Linked DNA regions of Homo sapiens: regions 2, 3 and 4 are each linked to region 1. Evidence: promoter capture Hi-C in 16 types of primary human blood cells and fetal thymus (Javierre and others, 2016). All regions are on one chromosome and are shown on one strand. Each heading gives the region's core, a stretch centred on a gene start or on the middle of the fragment in contact. The rest is flanking DNA. Distances are from core to core; before and after follow the strand shown.

Region 1 (5,028 bases), core at 1,908-4,407:
AATGATAGTGTGTATGTCTGTGGAGGGTGTGCCTTGAGCTGCAGTGTCAAGGAAGGCCTCTCTAACGCGACAGGTGATCTTAGGGCAGAATTTCTCTAGACATTCTCTGTATCCAAATAACTGTTCTATTTTTATCACAGAGTAGACTGGACTAACGCCGAAAGCCGGGGCGTGGTGAACCAGCCGCCCTACCTGCAATGTGCGGCCTGGTAGGATACTGTTCCAGAAGTAGCTTGGGCTTTTCAAATCCATCCACTTGTTGCAGGCGACTCTCTAGTTCCTTAAGCCTTACTTTCTTCATTTTGTTTTAAAGTATGGACTCGTAGGGTTTGAAGGCACAGGATCTGCGGAGAAATCTATTGAACTGGGATCTTGTTTCCTCCCTACCCCCAACCTTCTCCCTTTTTCAGCACCGCTGGCCGGACCCGAAGACGCGCCCTAAGGAGACGCCCGGACGCAGGGCACGGGGCGAGCCTCTGACCCACCTCCCGGCTAACCCAAGCCGCCCCAGGAGACGGCGGCGGCGCACTGCTGGAGCAGCCTCAGGATCCCTCGCGCCACGACCACGCACCTCTGGAGGCGACCCGCACCTCGGCCGGTGCCGGAAGCGCCAGGCCGCACGCGCGCACGCGTTCGCCGCCCAGCGGCCCGGCGCCGAGCTGCAGCGTTTATCTTGAGCCGGGGTTCCGCTGGCCACCTGGGGGCCTCATTGCCCCATCCCCTCCGCCTGCAAAGCCTGCGCTACTTGCTGACCCACCGCCAGTCCTCGCCGCCTGTCGCGTGCTCATTACCCTCTAGTTTGCCATGAGTACCTGCGGGCCCTCAAAGGATGGGGAAAGACAGAGTGAAAGGGATGCGGGAGAGAAAGTCACAGTCACTTTGTTGTATGGCCCAGAGTGACTCTTCTTGTTTCCCAAGTCTCGGCTCAAAAAGTAGCGATCTCCATTCACCTTTACCTCCTTCTCCATTCTCATGCCTTATTTTATTGTAACTTTGTTTCCCAATTTTTAGGTCATTTGTGTCACTTGCAATTCTCACAGGAGTGGTGATGTCAAAGAAACCCAAAGAAGAGATAGTGGAGAGGCAGGGCGCGGCGGCTCACGCCTGTAATCCCAGCACTTTGGGAGGCCGAGGTGGGTGGATCACGAGGTCAGGAGATTGAGACCATCCTGGCTAACACGGTGAAACCCTGTCCCTACTAAAATTACAAAAAAATTAGCCGGGCTTGGTGGCGGGCGCCTGTAGTCCCAGTTACTCGGGAGGCTGAGGCAGGAGAATGGCGTGAACCCGGAAGGCGGAGCTTGTAGTGAGCCGAGATCAAGCTACTGCACTCCAGCCTGGGAGACAGAGCGAGACTCCGTCTCAAAAAAAAAAAGACAGTGGAAATGAAAATAAAAGAATAGGTAGTGGTGTCAAATACTGGAAAGAGGTCGGGCTTCATAAAGTAGGAGCAGAAATTAAGTTGTAGCAGATTGTGGAGCGAATGGAAATTTAGGAAGAAGAAAGAGTAAATGTGAACAATTAAACGTGGCCCCGGAAGCGGTGGCTCACCCCTGTGATCCCAACATTTTGGGAGGCCGAGATGGGCGGATTGCTTGAGACGGGAGTTTGAGACCAGCCTGGGCAACATAAGGAGACCCTGTCTCTACTAAAAATACAAAAATTAGCTGGGTCTGATGACGCGAGCCTGTGGTCCCAGCTGCTCGGGTGGCTGGGGTGGGAAAATCGCTTGAGCCCGGGAGGCAAAGCTTCCAGTGATCTGAAATTGCGCCACTGCACTCCAGTCTGGTCGACAGTGAGACCCTGTCTCAAAAAAAAAAAAAAAAAAAAGAAAGAAGAAAAGAAAGAGAAAGAGAAAGGTGGCCTACGAAAAGAATGGTTGGATGCTTAGTAATGGGGGAAGCTTTATTATTTTTTCAATTATTTTTAAGACAGGAGGAGACAAATTCTGACAAGAATTGAGCTAATAGAAAGAGAGGGGTTAAAAATGCAAGAGGATATTGGATGGAGTTGGGATCCTGAGAAGGCAGGATCCAGTGGTTAAGTAAAAGGATTGCAGGATTGCGTTTAAGCCTGTGGATGGACACCTCTTTGCATTATTATAGGAAGAAGAAAAAGAGTGAATGGACGATGACGAAGTAGAGAAGTGTCTGAGGCTGCTACTTCTAGGAATAGCAGAATTCAAAGTTATCTGTTATGAGAATCAAATGAGTTAAAACATACAAAGTTTTAGCATGTAAAGTTAATACATAAAGTTTTATTTAGTTTATAATTTAGTGATTCGTAAAATTATTGAGCAAATTTAACTTATCACTGTTATATGATGATCGTGACATACTTAACTCATGTAGAAGACCAGGAATAACCTGTTTTAATTATGTTTCATTCATTTCAAACACAAGGTTATGGATTGGAAACACTCCTGTTCTTCTTTGTTGTTGTTGTTGTTGTTGTTGTTTTTAGAGACGGAGTCTCGCTTTGTCACCCAGGCTGGAGTGCAGTGGCGCGATCTCGGCTCACTACAACCCCCGCCTCCTGGGTTCAAGTGATTCTCCTGCCTCAGCCTCCGGAGTAGCTGGGATTACAGGCGTGCGCCACCATGCCCGGCTAATTTTTGTATTTTTAGTAGAGACAGGGTTTCACCATGTCAGCCAGGCTGATCTCAAACTCCTCACCTCAAGTAATCCGCCTGCCTCGGCCTCCCAAAGTGCTGGGATTACAGGCGTGAGCCACCGCGCCTGGCCTTCTGTTCTTCTTTGGATTGCTTTTCCTACAGTTTTTGTTTTCCTTAAGTTGGGGTTTCATTCTGTCGCCCGCTGGACTTTGATAACAGTAGGAATGTACATCTCAGACAAAATGCAGATGCCTAAAGTACATCTGAAAGATGATGTGAATAATTCCTGTAGTCTATGCAAATAAAGAAATAATTGCCCTTATTAAAGATTTCCTATAAGGTGAGTACTTTATTTCAGTAGCTCTTAACTTAGAAAGTTGGGAGCCTAGCTTGGTCCACAGGCGCCCAGGAGAGAGGGGCGGGAGGAAGGCTCTGCAGCCCGAGGGGGCGTGTGTAGGGGCGGGGCTGCGGGCGGAGGAGCGCGGACGCTCCGGGTATCGCGAGAGTTGGGCGGGCCGAGCAATCGCAGCAGTCTATTCCCTCACTCTCCCTGGAGGAGCCGCTGGCCCTGGACTCTCCAAATTCTGAGCTCTCATCATGGCGGCGGCGGCCGCGGCGGCCGTCGGGGGCCAGCAGCCGTCACAGCCCGAGCTGCCCGCGCCGGGGCTGGCCCTAGACAAGGCGGCCACCGCCGCGCACCTCAAGGCGGCCCTCAGCCGGCCGGACAACCGCGCAGGTGCTGAGGAGCTGCAGGCGCTGCTGGAGCGGGTGCTGAGCGCCGAGCGGCCGCTGGCCGCGGCTGCCGGCGGCGAGGACGCGGCGGCGGCCGGAGGCGGGGGCGGTCCGGGGGCGGCCGAGGAGGAGGCCCTGGAGTGGTGTAAGTGCCTTCTGGCGGGCGGCGGCGGCTACGACGAGTTCTGCGCGGCGGTGCGGGCCTACGATCCCGCGGCGCTCTGCGGCCTGGTCTGGACAGCCAACTTCGTGGCCTACCGCTGCCGGACGTGCGGCATCTCGCCCTGCATGTCGCTGTGCGCCGAGTGCTTCCACCAGGGCGACCACACCGGACACGACTTCAACATGTTCCGCAGCCAGGCCGGGGGCGCCTGCGACTGCGGGGACAGCAACGTGATGCGGGAGAGCGGGTGAGTGGAGCCCTCCCCGCGGGCGAGGCGACCCTGGGCCGGGGACGTCGCGGGAGGGCCTGGAGCGGAGCACTGGGAGCCCACTCTGAGCTGTCAAGGGGAGGGTGCGGGGGAGGGTGCAGCCACAGGGGGATGGAGGTGACTGAGCTGTCAGCGGTGGAAAGGGGGTGGGGAGGAGAAGGAGGGGAGAGGAGAGCGGAGAGCATGTTTAGGAAACCGGGCTGTGAATTTTGGGGAAGCCAGGGTGGGTAAATGATAGCGAGAAAAGAGCCAGTGTATGGGGTAGGAGGGGAGTGAGGGGAAATGATTTTTGGGGAAGCTCGTGTCGAGCTGTCAAGTGTGTACTTGTTGGGAAAGGCTGTAAAGCCTGGTTCTTGGGAAGAGACTTAGGTTGTGATTTGGATTGGCTGGGAGGGGATGTTATTGGGGACCGTATTGGCTCGCGGGATGATGAGAGCTGGGGAGGTGGTCTTGTACGTGCAGGGAAGGACGCTTGAGGAAAAGGTCTTCTGAACTGCCAGTGTGTCTGTCACTGTGAGAGAAGGAGCTCTTGAGGGTTGAGGGAGGAGGGAAGGGGAGGGGCCTGCATGAAAAGTGACTGTTGAGCTGTCAGTGGATTATTTGGTATGCTGGAATGACATTTAGAATTGGGCTACTGAGCAGTCAGTTACAGAATACCCTCCATACCAGGAGAACAAACAAAATACTGAGCGAACCAGGAATCAAGTGTTAGGTCTTCTCCAGTTAAGGGCACTTTGTTCACTCACTGATACGTGAACCTCTGTCTAAAAGGAGACAACAAATGCCCTTTTGACAGAAGCGATGCATCAGATGTTGGGACTTATGAGAAAAGACATTTCAGAGTTTGCAGTGAGTTACAGAGAGTTGGTACATGTAGGGTCGTGGCTTGGAACATGATGTCAATGTCAGGGACAGTCTGAGAAAAAAGGAAAAAGTGAAAGGGGCGATTTTGGATGGGCAGTAGTTGAAAGAATATTAGCAACTACAGGTTGCTATCAGTTATTAAACTTCTTCAATTTTCAGGTCTTAGGATTAATGACAGAGTACAATCTTTTTATAAATGGTCACCTTTTTCTTCGGAGTACTTGTAAGGTTACTGTTACTCCAAAATGTTTGTACCTACTATGTGCAAGCAAGGCTTCTTGGATATTAAAAATGAATGAAACATTGACCAACCCCTTACTCTACTTGCACTGGAGTAGAAAGTAATAAATTCCTTAAACAATAACTTGGTAGCTAGAGGAGGGAGAT
Region 2 (5,253 bases), core at 1,320-3,819, 280 kb before region 1:
TCATCTTTCTACATATAGTTGTGTTACTAAAAAGGGGTATAAATGTATACCATACATGCAACACATTCATATACATATATACATACATATATCCCAGCCTCACGTTGTAGGCTGTGACACAGTAGTATCAGACATGGTTAGATGCTGTCTGGCCCATAGATCCCACAAAAATGTAGCAAAGTCCATTAGCATGATGCAGACACAATTAATATATTTATACTTGCTTCATACCAGCTTCACCAGAGGTCTAAAGATCTATATAAATCCCTAATGTAGAGCCTAACATGTTATGCTGGATATGGAAGCTCTCAGTATCTGTTGCTTGGTAGATAACTGGGTAATTCTTACTCTCCAGGCAGAGCAAAAAGATCTGAGGAAACCAGTCTCTGGCTGTCTCTCCAACTTTATCTCCTACCAACTCGGTCTCCCTCATCTACTCCTGCCACACTGAATCCACTGTTCCTGGAAAAAAACCAAACATGCTCTCACCCGAGGGCCCTTTCCAGTTCCCTTTCTTTCATCCTGGGACTCTCTTCCCTAACTCTTGACATGCATCACTCTCTCAATTCATTTAATCCATGGTTAAATGACATCTCCTCAGAGAGGCAGTCCCTGAATCCCTTATCCAAAATAGCACTCCATCTCACACTTACCATGATGCTCCAGCCTACACACTTACCCTGCTCTAATGTTCTTGAAGGTACTTATCACCATCTGACCTTAGAGCCTTGTTTATTGTTTATGTCAATCTCCCCCTAACAGAAAGTAAACTCGATCATGGTAGTTTATCTGTTTTTACTCTCTCCTGTATCTCCAGCGCCTAGAAGAATACCTGACAGTAAGTACATGGAAAGTGTTGACTGAAAAGGAACGGTTACTGAGCATTTCTCCTCTAAAGCTTCTATATCATACTGACAAGTACATAGTGTGAGTCTGAGAAGAAAAGTCTCATAAAGCTCTAATCCTTCAAGGTCAAACTGTTCCAAACACAACTCAGGACCCAAAATAAAAAGGAAAAGGAAAAGGAAAAAGAAAAAGTAATTTCCTGTCTCTGCTGTCCTCACATATTGCTTCTGCTAAGGCTAACAGCAGGAAGGACTATTTCTATTCTACTTTTTTCTAGTACTGAAATATTACCAAAAGACTTTTCTGGCCAGGTGTGGTGGCACACGCCTGTAATTCCAGCACTTGGGAGGCTAAGGTGGGAGGACCGCTTGAGCCCAGGCATTTGATATCAGCCTGGGCAACGTAGCAAGACCCCATCTCTAAATTTAAAAGATAATTTTTTTAAAGACCTTTTTAAGAGATGCAAAATAATCAGCATAAGAGCAGCAACCCTTCAAACAATTTACAAACATCTATTAAGGTTCTTAAGAAACATTTTTTTACTTTTAAAAAACAATCTGGCAAGACTCCGTCTCAAAAAGAAAACCAAAATCTAAATAGACAGAAACAATCAGACATTATGTGCCTCCAGATGTGATCTAAATATAAGGTATACAGCACTACATACAAGTTATTTTTGCTGCAAATGTTTAATCTGAACCTAACCAAGCATCTATACCTAATTTCTAGTTTACTACAAATGCAGGAGATGGAGAAGCAAGTTACAGGAAAACAATCAGACAAATCCAGAATGTGGCACAATTTATAAGAAATGGCCAATCATTTTATAAAAATAAATATCAAGCAAAAAAGATGGAGGAAAAGACATAACTACTCAATGCTGGTTGTTTAAAAAAAAGTTATAGCCAGGCACGGTGGCTCACATCTGTAATCCCAGCACTTTGGGAGGCTGAGGTGGGTGGATCACCTAAAGTCGGGAGTTCGAGACCAGCCTGACCAACATGGAGAAACCCCGTCTCTACTAAAAATACAAAATTAGCTGGGCGTAGTGGCGCATGCCTGTAATCCCAGCTACTCGGGAGACTGAGGCAGGAGAATCGCTTGAACCTGGGAGGCGGAGGTTGCAGTGAGCCGAGATTGTGCCATTACACTCCAGCCTGGGCAACAAGAGCAAAACTCTGTCTCAAAAAAAAAAGTTATAAAAGATAATTTGGTGACTCGGGAAAATTTGATTACGGACTAGGTAGTAGATGGTACTTGTTCATTTTCTTTGGTACTGGTAATGATACCAGTATTGTAGTTACATAGGAGAACGTCCTTATAACCTGAAGTACACAGAGCTGACAACTGGAAGGTTCATCATACGCATACGCGCTTGTGCACATACACAGAGCAAATGTGGCAAATGTTAATCAATACTCAATCACGACTGTGGGGCTACAGTTCATTATTATACAGTTTATTATTATACAGATGTTTGTTGTATTGTTCAATTTTTCTGTATATTTGAAAACCTGGATAACAAAAAGTTAAGAAAAAAAAAAACCAAGTCAATGCCAAGAAAAGAAAAAAAGGAAACAAAATTCTAAACTATAAGAGACTGAAGAGATAACAACCAAACACAATGAGTGAATACTGGGTGCAAAACAACTACTCTAAAATGTATTTTGGTAACACTTAGGGAGACTGAAACATGAACTGTGTATTAGATATTAGGGGACTATGATTAAGTTTCTTAGGTGTGGCAACAGTATTGTGGTGGTACAGAAGAATGTCATTATTCTTAGGAGATGTATGCTAAAGTAATTAGGGATGGAGGGTCACAATGACTACAACTTTGAAATGGCTCAGAAAAAAATAAGAGAGTCAGAGAAACAAACGGATAAGGCAAACACTGTAAAATGTTAACATTATTGAATCTACACGGTGAGTATATATGTGTTCTTTGTTTAATTCTTTATACAAGTTTGACATTTTTCATAATTAAAATGGATACAAAGTTTTTATAGGGCCGGGCGCAGTGGCTCACACCTGTAATCCCAACACTTTGGGAAGCCTTGGCGGGTGGATCACCTGAGGTCAGGAGTTCCTGACCACCCTGGCCAACATGGTGAAACCCTGTCTGTACTAAAAATGCAAAAAATTAGCCGGGTGTGGTGGCACATGCTTATAGTCCAAGCTACTGGGGTGACTGAGGCAGGAGAATCACTTGAACCCAGGAGACAGAGGTTGCAATGAGCCAAGATCGCACCACTACACTCCAGCCTGGGCGACAGAGCAAGACTCTGTCTCAAAAACAAACAAACAAACAAAAAACCTTTTTTTAGGTAGATAATTCATGTCTATTATGGTTACCCTTTAAATGAGGGACATCTCCTAGCTCAGCAGCAACAAGTATCCTCTGACTTATTCACTCAATGTATTACCAAACAATATACCTACCTAAGTAAGAATTAAGATGTTGCACGCAAGTTCCCAAAAATTCATCCCTTTGAGGTGGATCATAGTTCAATACGCTGAATGGACGAATAATAGCAGGGATTGTAAAAGGATGGATCTGTATAAAAAGAACAAAAAATTTATAGTTTAAACTTTAGGAAAATAAGACAAAATTTTAACCTAATTATTTTTTAGGAGAAATCTTTTCCTATCATCGCTACAGTTAAATAATAAATGTATCACCCTGCTTATTAATTTTTCCATCCTGCTATAATTTATTTAACCCCACCAACATTATTAATAACCCCAAAAGTGTTAATGTAACAAAAAAGAAGTAAATCAGATAATTTACAAATTTATTTTGTTAGGTGTAAAATTCTGTTCTGGCTGGGAGTGGTGGCTCATGCCTGTCATCCCAACACTTTGGATGGCTGAGGTGGGAGGATTGCTTGAGGCCAGGAGTTCGAGATTAGTCAGGGCAACATAGTGAGACCCTGTCTTTATTTAAATTTAAAATAAGTAAATAAATTCTGTTTCAGAATTCATTAGTCACTAAATTGAATAGGAAACAGTATCAGCAATTTCCATGATAATCAGTACATTTTATAGAATAATCATAATTAAAGAAGTTTCTTAAATTATAATCACTAGCATTTATTTTTCTTTCATTTGCTTTTTTATTTCATTTTTCACTCATTCATCCAATACTTAATGACTTCCAGGCACTATACTAAGCAAGTTAAGACAAACTTTTTATTTTCATTTGTGAGAAACACTGTCTTTTAAATAAAGGCCTTGCCCTGATATATTTATGATAGTGATTTTGTAAGTGAGCTGCTTCTCACATAATCCATAAAGCGGCATTTTACAAGTCCCAGAAATAAATCTGCAAGAAGATGCAATGACAGTTTAAGAATATAGTTGCCAATGGATACCTTATAATTTTCTCAGTTTTCAAGCTTATCTCACACTTTTGAATATAATTGTTTTTAAATGGTAAAAATAATACCACACGATTACAGAAATAAGAAAAAGTAAAACCAAAAATCATTCATACTCCACTGTCCTAACATGAGTATCCTCAAAGAATTGATTACTAATCTTAATACTGTAATGAACCAAAGAATGATTGCTGATCTTTCCAAATCTACAATGCCGGAATGAGAAAGTGACTTTAAGGAGAGGAACAACAAATCGCTGAAATAGAAACCAGAGTTTTCTTTGTTTTTCTTAAGAGACAGGGTCTCACTCTGTCACACAGGCTGGAGTGCAGTGGTGCAATCATAGCTCACTGAGCCTTAATTCCTGGGCTCAACCAATCCTCCCACCTCAGCCTCCCAACCGCTGGAATTACAGGCTTGAGCTACCACATCTGACCCAGAATTTATTTAATTTTTAAACCTCAAATTCCAATCCAAGTTCTCAAAGTGCCTATGATAAAAATTATGCTTGCAGAAGTTGACAACTCTATAAAATTAATGTCTACCATTTAAATTTCACCTTTTCAATCTGCTGAACAGCCACTGAGGCTATCCTATCTAGTAGCAAAGTACTGAGGTAATCAGTACTAGAAATAAAAGATGCAATCTCCCCAACATTTATGTAATTAATATCATCCATGAAATGCTGTAAAGTAGCAATCATTTCTTCAAGAAGTGACTCAGGAAACGTGTTTCCTTTGAGAGATTTAAGTTCCTTCCGTAACAGATCCAAACTGTTGCTGTGTTGTAGTCTCTGACGACCATAGTGATCTAATTTTTGAAGTAGTTTCAGTTGTTTCGCAGTCATATTATCCAAATACATGTGATCATGCTGAATCCATCTTAAAACAGATGTGGCAAAACTACTCAGGTTATTTAGGTCACACTGTGGTAAAACGGCTTCAATTCGGGATATCCCCACTTCGTCCAAGTGAGGAGAAGGGAGCAGGGAAATAGCACGGACCAGAACAGACACCTCAGTTGGTAT
Region 3 (5,102 bases), core at 1,878-4,377, 260 kb before region 1:
TTTTTTTTTTGTAGAAACAGAGTCTTGCTATGTTGCCAGGGCTGGTCTCAAACTCCTGGGCTTAAGCAATCCTCCCACCTCAGCCTCCCAAAGTGCTGGGATTACAGGCATGAGCCACTGCACCCAGCCACATAAGTGTATTTTTTTTAAAAAAAAGGCAAGGGGCTGGGCATGGTGGCTCATGCCTGTAATCCCAGAACTTTGGGAGGCCGAGGTGGGCAGATCACTTGTGGTCAGGAGTTTGAGACCAGCCTGGCAACATGGTGAAACCCCATCTCCACTAAAAATATAAAAATTAGCTGGATGTGGTGGCGAGCACCTGTAATCCCAGCTACTCAGGAGGCTGAGGCAGGAAAATCGCTTGAACCCAGGAGGCAGAGGTTGCATCATTGCACTCCAGTCAGGGAAACAGAGGGAGACTCCATCTCAAAAGAAAAAAAAAAAGGCAGGGAAGTAGGGTGGAGTGGGGCAAGAAGAGCAGGAAACTACTATAATTTAATTTTACCAAAGTGCTAATCACTTTGTAAATATGAGAGAAAAAGCTGTATCTGAAACGCCAAAGACAATCATAGTACTGGATTATGAAGGTTAGCATTGACAGTAAGTAATCTTATGTTAAAAACAAAACAAACCCTCAAACCACTGGTATGAAAACCAGAGAAACTCCTTAAATGTTAGTTTCAAATTAATAGTTCCTTGACATTCAGCAAATGTAACTATTAACTCTCCTTTATGAAACTGAAAAGAAAGTATTCCCAGATGGAAAGAATAAAAAAGACATAATTGTATGTAAAATTTGTGAATTTGTTTATAAATTAATTATAAATTAATCCATTATAAATTATTAATCTATTATAAATTAATTATTAATCTATTATAAATTAATTATTCATTATAAATTATTTATTAATTTATTGTAAATTATTTATTAATTTATTGTAAATTATTTATTAATTTATTGTAAATTATTTATTAATTTATTGTAAATTATTTATTAATTTATTGTAAAATAATTATTTATTAATTTATTGTAAATTATTTATTATAAATTATTTATTTATTGTAAATCAATTATTTGTTAATTTATTATAAATTAATTATTAATTTATTGTAAATTAATTATTCATTAATTTATTGTAAATTAATTATTCATTAATTTATTGTAAATTAATTATTTATTAATTTATTGTAAATTAATTATTTATTAATTTATTGTAAAATAATTATTTATTAATTTATTGTAAAATAATTATTTATTAATTTATTGTAAATTAATTATTTATTAATTTATTGTAAATTAATTATTTATTAATTTATTTTTTGGTTTTTTTGGATTTTGTTGTTGTTGTTTCAAGTTTTGTTACTGTTTTTTTTTCGTTTTTTGTTATTGTTGTTTTGAGACAGAGTCTTGCTCTGTTGCCCAGGCTGGAGTGCAGTGGCACAATCTCAGGTCACTGCAACCTCCACCTCCCAGGTTCAAGTAATTCCTGTGCCTCAGCCTCCCGAGTAGCTGGGATTACAGGCGCCCGCCACCATGCCCAGCTAATTTTGTATTTTTTGTAGAGATGGGATTTTTGCCATGTTGGCCAGGCTGGTCTCGAACTCCTGACATCAAGTGATCCACCCACTTCGGCCTCCCAAAGTGCTGGGATTACAGGTGTGATCCACCATGCCTGGCCAATGAATTCATACTTAATTTAAATACTTCTTGGGTTTACTTCATGATATAATAATAATACCTACTATCCATTACTGAGAAACTTCTATGTTCTAGATACTTATTCAGAGGCCATTTTCAGTGGGTTTCTGACTGCCTTTGTTCAGAACTATCTTTTCAAGGATGTTTGCATAGCAAACAGCCTAGGAGAATAGAGATAATGTCTCCTGTTGGAGCAGAGTAGGCATGCTTTATTATAAAAGATTCAGGTTTCCTAAGCTCAGAGCTCCTCTCCTGGATCACAACCCATTATGGGAACGAGAGCTCAGGGAATCAACACAAGAAAATTCTGGTACTCTGCTACTGCTATTGCTATAAAAAACAAAGTCCTCTCTCTGACCTCGGAGTCTCAGGCCTTCCTACGGCACACGTAGGAAAATGTGGCAGGCAAACTTAGCTTGCAAATAGGTAAAAACTCAGATCCTCCACAGACCTCAACAATATTGTATTACACTTTATGTACCTTATGTCTAATCCCCACAGCAATATTGCAAAGTAGCTATTACTATCCCTCTTTTGCAGATGAGGATAACGAACTTCCAAGAGCTTAAGTAACCTTAAGTCACATAAACTAAGAGTAGCAAATCTGACTGCATCCACATCCAAAGCCCAGGATCTTTCCACCACAACACAAGATTCCCTAAATAAATTTACCTTAAGTCCTGTGTGGTTTCCAAGTTCCTATGAACAATATCAGCTATTTTTCCCATTAATGGACTAAAATACAAATGCTGATCTGCTAGGCAAGAGGAAAATTCTGAGAGCAGTTTAATATCAAACCTATTAAAGGAAATATACAAAGGAGAACATTAGTATTTACTTTCACTTAAAACACATAATATATAGTTATAAAATTAAAAGCAATCAAAATAGTAAATTACATAAAATTTTTTTTCTAAAATGTTATTATTATAAAAGTAACATGGCAACAGTTAAAAAGTCAGATACTGTAGAAAGGTTTTGAAAGGGGGAAAATCACTAAAAATTATTTGAATGATTTACTTAATTTTTTTAGATGACAGAACAATTTTGACTCAAGGTTGCATATTAACAAATATAATGGCTGCTACTACAACAGTGCTATGAATTTTTTTAATAGGAGAAATAATCCAATTTCTTCAACAAGAAAATGGCAAGACAAAAGAGAGGAAAAAGGAACTGTTATAGATTTTATGACTTTGAATTCACTAAAAAACAAGCATAAGAAAATTCACAGCAACACATATGTAATAGCAAAACCCTGCAAAAAACCCGAATGTCCATCAAGAGTACAATGGATAAACTGCACATACTCATACAATAGAATAAAATTATGGAATCATACAACATAATGGATAAATCCTTAAAACATACTGAGCAAACTAAACTATAAGGGTACATACTATAGGATTCCATTTCTATAGAAACAATTTATGGTGTTAGAGGTCAAGATCCTTTTTGGGTGAGAGGACTAGAAGAGAACATGAAAAGAACTAATGATGTTGTTTCCTTATCTTGGTGCTGTTACATAGCAATGATCAGTATATTAAAATTCATCATGCTGTATGCTTATGACTAGTATAATTTTTATACATTATTTTTCTGTAAAGTTTATTTAAAAAGAAACAAAAAAATTTAAGAGACACAGTAATTGTGAACCTTACTCAGAAACTGATTTAAATAAACTGCCTATAAAAAGACCTTTATAAGACAATCAACAAAATTTGAACACAGACAAGGTACTAGGTAATATCGAAAATTTAAATTTATCAATTTTATTATGTTTTTAAGACACAGTGTCTCACTGTGTTGCCCAGGCTGAACTTGAACATCTAGGCTCAAGTGATCCTCCAACCTCAGCATTTTTATTAAAATTAAAAAAAAAATTTTTTTTGTGGGTACATAGTAGGTACATATATTTATGGGGTACATGAGATATTTTGATACAAGCATGCAACGCAAAATAAACACATCATGAAAAATGGAGTATCCATTCCCTCAGGCATTTATCCTTTGAGTTACAAACAATCCAATTACGTTCTAAGTTACTTTAAAATGTATAATTAAGTTATTATTGACTATAGTCACCCTGTTGTGCTGTCAAATAGTAGGTCTTATTCATTTTATTTTTTTTTACCCATTAACCATCCCCACCTCCCCCACAATCGCCCGTTACCCTTCCCAGCCTCTGGTAACCATCGTTCTGCTCTCTACGTCCATTAGTTCAATTGTTTTGATTTTTAGCTCCCACAAATGAGTGAAAGCATGCGACGTTTATCTTTCTGTGCCTGGCTTATTTCACTTAACATAATAATCTCCAGTTCCACCCATGTTGCAAATGACAGGATATCATTTTTTTTACGGCTGAATATTACCCCATTGTGTATATATACCACATTTTTCTTTTTTTTTTTTTTTTTTGAGACGCAGTTTCGCTCTTGTTGCCCCAGGCTGGAGTGCAATGGCGCGATCTCGGTTCACTGCAACCTCCGCCTCCCAGGTTCAAACAATTCTCCTGCCTCAGCCTCCCGAGTAGCTGGGATTACAGGCATGCACCACCATGCCCAGCTAATTTTGTATTTTTAGTAGAGACAGGGTTTCTCCATGTTGAGGCTGGTCTCGAACTCCTGACCTCAGGTAATCAGCCCGCCTCGGCCTCCGAAAGTGCTGGGATTACAGGCGTGAGCCACCACACCAGGCTTTTTTTTTTTTTTTTTTTTTTTTTTTTTTTGAGAGGGAGTCTCGCTCTGTCACCCAGGCTGGAGTGCAGTGGCGCGATCTCGGCTCACTGTAAGCTCCGCCTCCCGAGTTCACGCCATTCTCCTGCTTCAGCCTCAGGAGTAGCTGGGACTATAGGCGCCCGCCACCACGCCCGGCTAACTTTTTGTATTTTTAGTAGAGACGGAGTTTCACCTTGTTAGCCAGGATGGTCTCGATCTCCTGACCTCATGATCCGCCCGCCTTGTCCTCCCAAAGTGCTGGGATTACAGGCGTGAGCCACCGCGCCCAGCCACCACATTTTCTTTATCCATTCATCTGTTGATGGACACTTATGTTGCTTTCAAATCTTAGCTATTGTATACAGTGCTGCAATAAACGTAAGAGTACAGATATCTCTTCAATATATTGATTTCCTGTCTTTTGGGTATATACCCAGGCAGTGGGATTACTGGATCACATGCTAGCTCAATTTTTAGTTTTTGGGGGAACCTCCAAACTGTTCTCCATAGAGCTTATACTAATTTACATTCCCAAAAACAGTGTGCAGGGTTCCCTTTTCTCCACATCCTTGCCAGCATTTGTTATGGCATGTCTTTTGGATATAAGCCATTTTAACTGTGGTGAGATGATGTCTCATTGTAGTTTTGATTTGCATTTTTCTGATGTTGCACCTTTTCATATGCCT
Region 4 (5,271 bases), core at 606-3,105, 300 kb before region 1:
GGCTATTTTGAGACTGGTATTTCCTAATTTGGGGTAGGATCTGGAGCATGATTCTCAAACTTTGCTGCATATTAGAAACACTTGGGGAGCTTTAAAAAATCCTGATGCCCAGGCCACCCTTCATACCAATTAACTCAATCTCTGAGAGTAGGACCTAGGCATCAGTATCTTTAACATCTCCAGCTGGTTCTATTGGCAATTAAGTTTGAGAACCTGTAATCTACTACAGTGGTTCCCAAAGCAGCATCAGCCTCACCTGGGTACTTATCAGAAAGGCAGATTCTCAGGTCTCACTTCAAATCTGTTAAATTAGAAACTCTGGGGGTGATAGGGCCAGCGATCTGTGTTTGCACAAACCCTCCAGGTGACTTAGATGTGTGTTAAAGTTGAAGGCCGCCGATCTAGAGAAACGTGGCTGCCTATTTGCCCTCAATTTCCTAGTGAACCTCCCTAACCACACATGCAGAGGTGAAAACTCTCAGTATACAACATTCTCAACATAGACCCTCTTACTATACGTAAAAAAAAAATTCCATTCTTGTATTTTTTTCTTGAAATCATTCCATTATTTAGGATTGACCAAGCTGAAAGTAAATATAACTGCCAGGAAGCAAACATTTTTAAACCTCATTTAACCTTAACCTCATATTGTTTAAATGTGGTCACTTTCTTTAGGTCATTTAAAACTATTATTTATCTCTTAATTTGTTGCCCTGAATTTTATGTAATTAAGGTTATTCCCTTTATTAGTAGCAAAATATTTTTTGTATGCTTTCCTCTACATAAAAATCAGTGCATGGTACAATTATTGAGAACTAATTTGGAACATTGATGAAATTAAGTCAGAGCATGTCTTATGTAGGTACAAGCTAATTTTAATAATTATTTTAAATCTCCATTCATCACAGAATGATTTGGGGTAAATCTTTTTTTTTTTTTTTTTTTTTTGAGATGGAGTCTTGCTGTGCAATCTTGACTCACTGCAACCTCCGCCTCCCGGGTTCAAGCAGTTCTCTTGCCTCAGCCTCCGGAGTAGCTAGGATTACAGACGCACACTACCATGCCTGGCTAATTTTTATATTTTTAGTAGAGACGGGGTTTTGCCATATTGGCCGGGCTGGTCTCAAACTCCTGATCTCAGGTGACCTGCCCCCCTCGGCCTCCCAAAGTGCTGGGATCACAGGTGTAAGCCACCACACCTGGCTGATTTGGGGTTGTCTTGTGCCAGGTCTTGACAATTTGTGGAGAGATATTAATATATTATTTGTCCTCAGATGCCTTTGAGGCTTGAGGACATTGATATGGGGGGGGGAATTAAAATGGAGTGATAATTGCTATAATACCATATAAAGGATGATATGAGAAAGAGAAAGCAACAAACTGTGCTTAAGGAAGGTGAGAAAGGTTTCAGAGAGAAGGCGGCATTTAGAAGCTTCCCACACAAAGAAAATATTCCAGGCACCAGGCAGAGCAGACATGTTCAGCACACATCGTACAAGGGAATTCAAGTTATCTGTATCTTTATAACCTTGAATATTCAGAGATGAAGACCAGTTCTTACCTAAGTCAAGTGCAAAGTCTAAGAGTAGTCCTCAAACAGAACAATAAAGGGGAAGGGGAACAAATTTTCATAAAGTGACAGCTGTGTATCAGGTGCCATGCTAGGCACTAGTGTATAGGAACAATTGAAGGCATAATTAAGTCTACCGATAGTCCCTGCTCTTCCTCAGTTCTTTCTCTTAAGCAAGAGTCTGCTTACTTTGACTCAGAGACCAGCCATCTTCATCAATTCAAAGGTGAATGAATGTTTAACTGCTTAGCTATTTATTCCTCTTCTCTGCAGTCTTTGATTCCCAGAGAATGCTGAACTGCCTAGGCATCCAGATTAAATACTGTGGCAGTAGTTCAGGCACATGCTCATCCAGACAATGCATATTTGGGAGATATTTAAGTTCTGTTCTACCAGGCAGGTGCATCTTCTTCTGAGTAAGAGCCACTAGGGTTTTTTCAAAGATCCACATTTGTATTCTGAACACAGGGAAACCTATGGAACTAAAGCTGCTTATTGATTACTTTTTTTTTCCTCCATCAGGTATGAAGATGATAAAAAAGAATGGGCTGGGATGTTGAAGGAAATACGTTATGCTTCAGGAGCTAGTTGCCTAGCAACACGTTTAAATCTCTTCAAACTGTCTAAACTGTGAACAAGGTGACAAAACATAATAGATTGGGAGGTGGTTTGTTTGGTGAATGGGGCTTTAATTTATTCTGTTTTTTAAAAGCTTGTACAGACACTCATGTAGAAATTATTCAAGAAGTTATTGTCTAAGAGATGAGCAGTAGGTAAGAAAACCTCAGTCATTGACTCTTCAATGTAATGATCAGAGTTTAAAACCATTTTCTAATAATAAATTAAATCTTCAGTTGAACAAATTATTTTGTGAATCTGTTTCACTCAATGGATTGTAAAGAAGGCTCCTAAATTTGAGTTGTTTGCTAATCATTTCATTTGCATCATTAGGGTATCCTTAAACTGATTTTCTATTACAATTGGAAGTGGAGAATATGTGCATCTACACTAAAAAAATGTTTAAGATATCAAAAACCTCTCCTCGTGCTTCAAAATGACAGGAATCCTGTGCATTATACTAAGAATTACATGCCATAAGATGACTTCAGAAATCCTACTTCAGAAGTGTAATAAATGGATGGGGAAATCGTTTGATGGGGAAAAGTCTCTTGTAAGTAAAAGTAGTCAAATTCAAATGGCCTTTTCTCTCCATTCTTTTTGCGACACTGGCGTATTATTTGTGGTTTCCAAATCAAATTTTTAAAATTTTAATTTAAAACCAGTAAATCACAGTCTTCAAGCCATTAACTACAGCATCTGTGGCAGGAGGGTGAGGGAGCACCCTTAGGAAATGGATTGATTCTTTAAACTGCTGGGACAGCAGTTGGGGTCAGTGGGTGATGTGGAGGAGGAAGTGTATTCACTGGTTTAAATTTTGGCTACACTCCATGAAAGGGCTACCTATTTGCTAAATTTCTGACAGCAAGGAAGGTGACTGTATTATTTCATTTTCTGGGATGTGATATCCTCCATTCACTGTTCCTTCTTAGTGCATATAGTAAGTTGACTCCTCAATCTGCTCATAACCATCACATTCAACTCTGTGCAAGTCATCAATTAATCATCACTTTTAGCCACACACCAACTTATGAGTCTCACATAGCTTTCATAGACATATATTTGACTTCTATCCTTACCCATATTATTTTCTGAAAAACCTGACTTGGGACTAATTTGGAACATTCATGATTATTTGTCAAGGAGTTGCATAAAGAACAGATCTAAGTGTCCATACACCTTTTTTTCTCTACCATAAATACAGAAATATATTTAACAGAAACAAGTTTTATTTTGGGTATTTAAAGTAGAATCCTGATTACTTTTCTATATTGAAAAATACTTTTCTTAAATTATAGCATGAATACAGAATCATGAAATTCCCAAAGTGGAAAATCCTACAGGTTCTTCAACAAATAAACTGTTAGGAAGAGGAAGGGGCACTTATAAAGACAGACTCAAAAGTGTAGAGGAAGAGGGGGCCACAGGGATAATGGTGTCCGGAAATGTACATCTGGGTGATAAAACTGTAAGAAGTACTTACTATAAAATCAGGATTGAGGTTAATTTTAGGGAGAGAATGCCAATCTACATAGATGTAAAATTAAGTTGTAAAAATAATGCTTCTTCCAGGGTTTGAGGATGATGATGTTCTGGAATCAGATATGGGTGATGGTTGCACAAATATACTAAAAACCACTGAATTATACACTTTTAAAGGGTGAATTTTATAGTATGGGATTTATATCTCAATAAAAAATGCTTTTGTTTATAACAATCTAAGTTATTTAGATAGAAAAATCATCAATCAAAAAATAAGAGTATCTATATAAAGAAAACCATTTGAATCAGATAGCCTAGAGCAAGGGTCCCCACCTGGGCCACATAGCAAGAGGTGAACAGTGGGCAGGCAAGTGAGCATTACCACTTGAGCTCCACCTCCTGTCAGATCAGCAGCTACCTTAGATTCTCATAGGGGGACAAACCCTATTGTGAACTGTACATGCGAGGGAACTAAGTTGCATGCTCCTTATGAGACTCTAACTAATGCCTGATGATCTGAGGGGGAACAGTTTCATCCTGAAATCATACCATCCCCCAACTGCTGTCCATGGAAGAACTGTCTTCCGCAAAAAGGTTAGGGACTGCTGGCCTAGAGAGAGTAGGAGATGTGACAGGTAAAAAGTTAGATCATGTGTAACAACTAGTGAAAGTATACCAGGGTTATTCAATCAAGATTTCCATGTACCACAAGTATATAATGACTAAATTTTTAATGATTTATATCCAAAGGAAACCCTTTATAACCCTCATCAGCCTAATCATTTTATTCTAAAGTTGCATAGTAAAATATTTTAACCTATTCAATGGTCTAGTTCTTGTTATCACTTGCTTGAGAAATGGAACACATTTCATGGAAATTAAACACTGAATTTAGCATTTCCACTAATATGACTATGAGGAAATTCAGAAAGAGGAAGAGACAATGAGAAATCTTTCACTTACTATTCTGATTTTGTTTTTCACAAAACGTTTTGTGAAGTTAATATTCCACAAAATCATTAAGTATTGGAGTTCAAATCATGCAAAGTCATTGGATATTTTAAACATGTACTTCAACTAAGCCTAAGCCAAACATCAGTGAAGCAATTTACATGCAAGACACAAATTTTAAAGCTATGCTTATGATTGAAGGCACTCCAGCTACCAACTTATTTTGAGATAGTATGAATTGAGAAGGTCATGGAGTCAGAAGATAGCCACGGTTCAGATGGTCAATTACCTCCACCACCACCAGGTGGCGTAACTGAGAGTAGTTAGGCTGTGGCCTGCTGAGCACAAAACCATCACTCTTAGAGGAAGGGTTGGGGATTATATCACACAGTAGGCCCTTAGTAACCATTTTATTGAATAAATGTGTTGTAAGACAGGGAGAAGCCATTATTCCCTCAATGTGTAGGATTACACCAGGTCAAGATGGTCCACTCAGCTACTACCCCATTTCTTTGCTTCCATTTAGGAGAAAATGTATCTCCTCCCATTTTCTCTTGAACCAGTCAGGCTTTCACATGCACCACTTCAAAACGACTATTTTCAAAGTACTAATGATTTTCATGTTGCTAAATTTAATAGCCATTTCCCAT

What was found. The method cuts DNA at HindIII sites, captures the fragments that hold promoters and counts their contacts. A CHiCAGO score of 5 or more calls a contact.
Region 2: a contact is called between a fragment that was not itself captured here and the fragment with the promoter of UBR3 in region 1, in 1 of 17 cell types (non-activated CD4 T cells). The highest score is 5.5, in non-activated CD4 T cells.
Region 3: a fragment that was not itself captured here is called in contact with the fragment with the promoter of UBR3 in region 1 in 1 of 17 cell types (fetal thymus); the score reaches 8.2 in fetal thymus.
Region 4: a fragment that was not itself captured here is called in contact with the fragment with the promoter of UBR3 in region 1 in 3 of 17 cell types (total B cells, total CD8 T cells and naive B cells); the score reaches 5.8 in total B cells.

The regions. Positions count from the first base shown.
Region 1 is chr2:169,824,297-169,829,324 of GRCh38, forward strand. UBR3 (ubiquitin protein ligase E3 component n-recognin 3) reads left to right here and starts at 3,158. Exons shown (of 39, transcript NM_172070.4): 1 at 3,158-3,756. The coding sequence starts at 3,212. METTL5 (methyltransferase 5, N6-adenosine) reads right to left here and starts at 609. Exons shown (of 7, transcript NM_014168.4): 1 at 193-609. The coding sequence starts at 301. RefSeq lists silencers at 1,155-1,358, 2,952-3,511, 3,772-3,901 and an enhancer at 4,919-5,028. The HindIII fragment of the contact is 16,279 bases long and covers 1,902-5,028 here.
Region 2 is chr2:169,541,433-169,546,685 of GRCh38, forward strand. FASTKD1 (FAST kinase domains 1) reads right to left here. Exons shown (of 15, transcript NM_024622.6): 8 at 4,786-5,253; 9 at 3,289-3,403. Among named protein-coding and RNA genes, the nearest start is that of FASTKD1, 30 kb to the right of the region's middle. The HindIII fragment of the contact is 3,346 bases long and covers 897-4,242 here.
Region 3 is chr2:169,560,854-169,565,955 of GRCh38, forward strand. FASTKD1 (FAST kinase domains 1) reads right to left here. Exons shown (of 15, transcript NM_024622.6): 4 at 2,372-2,497. Among named protein-coding and RNA genes, the nearest start is that of FASTKD1, 10 kb to the right of the region's middle. The HindIII fragment of the contact is 7,307 bases long and covers 1-5,102 here.
Region 4 is chr2:169,523,493-169,528,763 of GRCh38, forward strand. It overlaps KLHL41 (kelch like family member 41), which reads left to right. Exons shown (of 6, transcript NM_006063.3): 6 at 2,093-2,766. The coding sequence ends at 2,204. It overlaps FASTKD1 (FAST kinase domains 1), which reads right to left. Exons shown (of 15, transcript NM_024622.6): 15 at 5,016-5,271. Among named protein-coding and RNA genes, the nearest start is that of KLHL41, 16 kb to the left of the region's middle. The HindIII fragment of the contact is 850 bases long and covers 1,431-2,280 here.